Regions from separate parts of the Homo sapiens genome. Here region 1 is linked to region 2. Evidence: promoter capture Hi-C in 16 types of primary human blood cells and fetal thymus (Javierre and others, 2016). All regions are on one chromosome and are shown on one strand. The core of a region is centred on a gene start or on the middle of the fragment in contact, and the rest is flanking DNA. Distances in the headings are between cores, read along the strand shown.

Region 1 (2,955 bases), core at 126-2,625, 320 kb before region 2:
GATGGGACCTTTGGGAGGTAATTAGGTTTAGATGAGGTCGTGAGGGTTGAGCCTCCATGATGGGATTAGTGTCCTTATAAGAGGAGGAAGAGACCTGAGTGAGTGAGCTCTCTGTCATGTGAGCAAGGAAGAGGGCCCTCAGCAGATCCCACCCATACTGGCTCCCTGATCTTGGATGTCCACCTTCCAAAACTGTGAGAAGTGAATGTCTGTTGGTTAAGACACCCAGTCTTTGGTATTTTGTTATTGCAGTCTGAGCTGATTAAGACAAGGATGACCATGATAAATGTTTATCGTGGGCTTACGCTCTGGCAAGTGCTATGCTAAGTGTGTTATATCTTAGTGATACAATACATCTCAATGAACCCTCGAAACAACTCCACTTGAAGGGTACTGCTATTAGCCCCATTTTACAGGTATGCAAAGCGAAGAATAGAGTTTAAGTAACCTACTCCTGTTAACACAGCTACTCAGTGGGGAAGCCCAGATTCTAACCCAGAGAGTGAGAAAGAGGCCATTGTTCCTCCACCCACACGCTGCTCTGAAGGACGGCCTGCACTCCTTACAGAAAGTCCCCAAGCTCTCATCTGAGTGGCTTTCATCACCAAAGAGTCCAGCTGCCTGTGGCTTCCCCAAGAACACAGTGGGCAGGCTTTGGGCTTCTTCCTAGGTTTCTGACACCTTCTAGAAGGTCTCCTAGAAGGTCCCCTGCACAGGTCAGCTTAAAATGCACTGGAAGGCTCTGTGCCCCCAAATATCTCCAGGCATCAGCGAGTGCCTGACATCTCACCATAACAGGGCCAGTCTTCAGGGGAAGAAGCATTGATCCCTCCTGGACCTCTCTGAATGTAAGGTTCCCTGAAGTGGAGGTCATATGTATGACCTGAACAACAGATTAATCCAAGGGCATCTTGTTATTGGAGGGTAGGGTAGAGGGAAGGTAAAATTGAAGGAGGTAAAAGGTGAGAACAGGACCAAATGCGCAGCGTGTGCTTCCAAGGACGCAGCAGCCTCTGAGCAAACAGGCAGCTGTTTATTGGAAATCTGCCCTCAGCGTTCCCAGACTGCATCTTCAACACAGGCTCAGATGACCCGGGTGGAGGTCTGCTTGTGGATCCCCTTGCTTCTTGACCCCTAGCCCACCTGGGTTTCAATTGGTGCTTATTGTTTCAAAAAGTCTCTGGCATCACCGACCTTCTGGGTACAGAAAGCTCACCACCTCCTACCCTGCTCCAACCTAGGGGTCTTGACCTGCTGACCAAATTCTCACGGGAGGACCCAGGTCTGTTCTAGTATAGAGACAGCAACACACACAGCTGCAGAAGTATGGCAATCACCATTCGGTGCTGCCATCATAGGCAAGTTTTTGTTTCGCTTCATACTTTCACAATGTGTAGAATGTTCTACTATTTTCATAAGCAAGAACAAAAATATGACAACCAAAAACCAAATCTATTCAGTAGCCCTTACTTGCTACAAACTTACCTACAAAAATCCAATCCAGAAACATCATCCTGGGCATCATAGGACACAGGATGCAGGTTATTTTCGTAAAAGAGCACCCTTAACTCCTTTCACAGGATTCACCACGGAATACATTTGAACAGTAAGCCCGTCTCCTAATGCATTTAAGATGCAATTTGATTTACAAATCTCTCAAATTGACTAGTTGTTTTCATCCTGGGAAACTATTTTCAGTTAAAATGGTGATGGGTCCAATCTAATTTTCTCAAAGGAACACTGTTATGACGGTGGTTACAGTCCTTCCTAAGAGTCTTATTTCCCAACTTTTTACAGAAATGACGAGCAATGAAACCAATCGTTCTAAACTGTGTTGACATCAATCCAATAGGGCAATATGGCAACCAATTAATTTGACTCTATTCATTTCAAAGCTGTCTCAGCGGGGTGCCCTGATACCTGGAGGGAAGCTGTTTAAAGTTGGCAGGGGTGTGGAGGGGGAGTCTCAGGCACAGGCTAGGCAGACAGCCAAGGATAACTCCTGTAAGTCAGAGTTCTAAGTTCAACTTCCTCCAAGGTTTCTATTACTATTGCCCCAAAGGAGCATCTGCACTGCCTTTTAAGTCAGATTTGATGTCAGATATGGAAAAACAGAAGGTCACAGGAGGGAAAGAACATGGGTAAACTTCATGCTTCAAGTGAGGCTTGTGTGCAAAGCTACAAAGCAGGTGACAGGAGAAAGGGGTTGGAGCCTGTGGCTGCTGAAAACACCCCAATTCCACATTCCTCTGGGCAGGAAAGCCACGGGTCAGGCCAGAGTATCCTCAGCACTGTCACCCACAGGTGGAGAAGAAAGTGGCCTATACAATGTGAAAAGGGGAGCTACTAGGTCCCTCAGTCCCCAAGAACCTCCCTACTGGGGCCTGGAGTCCACCACCAGAAACGGATCCCTTCAGCATTTCCCTCCGCTATGAAAGGTCTCTTCCAAAATGTAGATCCCACATATGTATTAACTTAATTCTGGGCTCTCTATTTTGTTCCACTCGTCTATATGTCTGTTTTTATGCCAGTACCACACTGTTTTAATTGCTGAATTTTTGTAATATATTTTGAAATCAGGAAATGTGATGCTTCCATCTTTGTTCTTTTAACTCAGAATTGCTTTGGCTGTTCAGTCTTTCATGGTTCCATATGACTTTTAGGATTGTTTTTTCTGTCTTTATTGAAAAATGCCTTTGAGAATTTGATAGGAACCATATTAAAGTTGCAGTTCCTTTTAACAAAACATTAATTCTTTTATGGGCATTTTAACAAACATTAATTCTTCCAAGCCAAGAAGAGTCAACTGATCTTCAACAAGAGTGCCAAGAATATACAATGGAAAAAGGATATTCTCTTCAATAAATGATGTTGGGAAAACTGTACATCCAATGCAAAAGAATGAAACTGGATCCTTACCTTTTACCATACACAAAAATCAACTAAACGTGGATT
Region 2 (2,778 bases), core at 68-2,567:
TTTTTCTACTTGTATGTCAGAAGATGAGCTAACCACCATGCAAGAGAATAGAAACAAGCCAGCTTCCTCTCGGAGGGAAAAATAAAGCAACTCCTCGCTCGGCTAAGCAGGACAAAGCCAGGACGTGCAAGAAGCCTTCAGTCAAAGGCTCCACGTGCCTTTCCAAGGACGGAGGGACCCACCCACACACAATCACACACAGCCAGCCCACCACGCGCCTGCGGAAGAAAGCCGGGTCCTCGGCCAACCTTCAGCACCAGTGGCCCAGGCTCTCCCAGTTTGCAAACCTCCCGCAGCACCCACCAACTGGAGGGCACAGAGGGAGCAGAGGGCCACATCCTCTTTCCAAGTCTCATCTTCCTCGCCAATGCCTGTTTCTCCCCAACTATGAAGTGAAGTGTACCTCCCCAAGGAAACTGAGACTTACAGGCACACACACCCCAGTCGTCAATAAGTCCCGGAGCCCTACGATCAAGACCAGCGAGTCTTTCCCCGGGACCCCACAACCGGGTTCCCGGAATGACGGGGAGGCGCCGCACTCACCCAGTCCTCGAAGTGGCGGCTCCCGTTCTGCAGCAGCTCCTCAAACTGGATGGTGCAGTTGGCCACGAAGTCGTCGTAGCCTATGGGGGCATCGTGAAAGACAGCCAGCTCGATCTTGCGTCCGTTGCACACATCGGTGACGAACTCGTCGTGCCAGGCCGGGCTGTTGGTCTTCTGCTTGGTGGCCGTTTGGCCGATGCGCGAGTCGTCCACATTGAGGGCAATGTAGGGGTCGAGAAGGAAAGTCTGCGGCCGGGGTCCCACCGCATGGCGCAGCGACCAGGCTGTGGGCTTCAAGCTCACGGCCTCGCAGATTTTGATCTTAAGAAGGCCATTGAACACTACCATGGTCGGGGCGGGGAGTGGGGGCCGGGGTCACTCCGTCTGCCCCGAGGGCAGGAATGAAGAACCGACGGCCCGGCACTCCGAGCCACAGGGACTCTTGGGTCCCCTTTCGCCCCACCCCGCACACTCCCTACACCTTGTGGCGTTGCGCCCTGGCGCGGGCGATTCTCAGCCAGTGCATGTATTTCCTCGCCGGGTTCCTAACGGAAAACAGGGAGGGGGGAGAGCTGGGGGATGTCCGTGTTTGGAGCAAGTCTCTCCCCCCGACCACCAGCTGCACCTCCAGAAGAGAAGACGAGCTGTCGGCTCCGCTGCAAGCCGCGGGGGCTGCCTCGCCGCCTCGCTGGCTCTCCGGCTCCGGACTGCGGGAAAGCGGGCGCCGCGCCCGGCGCTTACCTACCTTTCCGAAACATAATCCCGGGAAATTTCGACTCCGGGAGGGGGATGGGGCGGTGGGACGGGGCGGGGACGAGAACCGGGGGCGCAGATTTCAACCCGGATCCTCTTCGCACACTCAGCGCCTGCCTCTGACCGCGCGGGGCGGGGGGGTGAACGGAGGGATGTTCAGTCTATCCGGAGGGATGCATGTCGAGAGGAAATGGTCCTCCTCGGAGCCAAATTTTTAAAAATCCACAAGCCCCACGGCCAGCCGGGGCCGCCGCCTCCTGGGCGAAGCAGCGCCGCGCCGGAGCCGGCGATCGGGAGGCGCCAGGAGCCCGGAATCTCACATCCGCGCGGGCTCGGAGTCCGGGCGGCCGCCGATCCGGCTCGGGGGCGCAGGCCAGCACCGGGCGGTGCGCAGCGCGGCGGCGGGGCAGGGACTGCGACTCAGCGCGGCCCCACCTCCTGGGCGCCGGCGCCCGCCCTCCGCGCTCCCCGCGTCCCCGCTCTCGGCTGCCGCTCGCTCGCCGCCCGCCAGCCCGCGCTCCCCCGCGGTCTCCTCTCCCTCTGTCGGTGTGCGAGCGAGTCTCCCTCCCTCTAATGCAGGAAATGCGCAAAAGACGTCAGTGTGTGTGAGTGTGTGTGTGTGAGTGTGTGTGTGTGCACGCGCGCGCGCGCACGGCAGTGTTTGGGGAAATAGAAAGTTTTGCCGGTTGGGGGAGCAATACGGAAAAAGTGAGCCGAGGAGACAACGGTGGAGAGCTGGCGAGGCTGCCCGGGGTCGCAGCGGCGGGCGGGTCAGCCGGGGGGCGGGGACCCCGCGCGGGACCCCGGGGTGCGGCGGCGCTGGGCTGGATGCGCGTGCCGGGGGCCGTGGATGGCCATGGATGGGCCCCGCCGGGCCGCGTATCTCTCGGGGACCCTGCGGCCAACACTGTCTTTTAGAGCCGGGGATGGGGGAGTGGAGGGGGCCCTGTTGCCCTAGAGGCCTCGGGACCCTTCCCTTGCCCACCCCCACTCGGGCCGCGGCGGGCAGGAGCAGTCTGCGGAGTTCTGGCCCATCTGTCACTCTGTCCCGGGACGCTGTGATCCACGGCGGTGGGGGAGGGGGAAGGGGGAGGGACAAGCATGGCTCGGGTGAAGTTTTAAACTCTGTTCTTCTCTCTTGCCTTTCTTTGGGGACATTCTCCCCTTTGGGATCTGTCCTGGACTTCGCAGGCTGCGAGAACTTGTTGACAAGTGAAAGCTCGGTAGAGCCCCGGCTTGGTTTGTGGTCTGCTTATTTTTTGCAAAGTGACTGTTCCTGTTTGCGCTGGTCCTTATCGGTGCCCCTTTGGGGGACTTCGGCACTGATCAGCGCGCTGACAGCCGCCGTCCGGGCTGCGGGAAAATGGGGCGCGCCCTCCGGGGGGCGAGTGGCTGTGTCCTTGCTAATTTCCTCCGTAACCTTTAAACTCTCGCTGGAAGCTACCGCCGCGGCTGGTCACGTGAGGAGAGCCCTGGGCTGCT

Evidence for each region. Contacts are between HindIII fragments. The CHiCAGO score rates a contact against its expected background, and 5 or more counts as called.
Region 1: a fragment that was not itself captured here is called in contact with the fragment with the promoter of PRKCE in region 2 in 1 of 17 cell types (total B cells); the score reaches 5.2 in total B cells.

Annotation. Positions count from the first base shown.
Region 1 is chr2:45,972,615-45,975,569 of GRCh38, reverse strand. The region is part of intron 2 of PRKCE (protein kinase C epsilon); the gene reads right to left. Among named protein-coding and RNA genes, the nearest start is that of PRKCE-AS1, 300 kb to the right of the region's middle. RefSeq lists enhancers at 566-615, 1,577-2,126. The HindIII fragment of the contact is 3,479 bases long and covers 1-2,955 here.
Region 2 is chr2:45,650,214-45,652,991 of GRCh38, reverse strand. It overlaps PRKCE (protein kinase C epsilon), which reads right to left and starts at 1,317. Exons shown (of 15, transcript NM_005400.3): 1 at 544-1,317. The coding sequence starts at 891. LOC102724965 (a long non-coding RNA gene) reads left to right here and starts at 1,777. Exons shown (of 2, transcript XR_005647119.2): 1 at 1,777-2,778. RefSeq lists enhancers at 639-1,259, 1,748-2,042 and silencers at 1,418-1,887, 2,058-2,157. The HindIII fragment of the contact is 7,889 bases long and covers 1-2,778 here.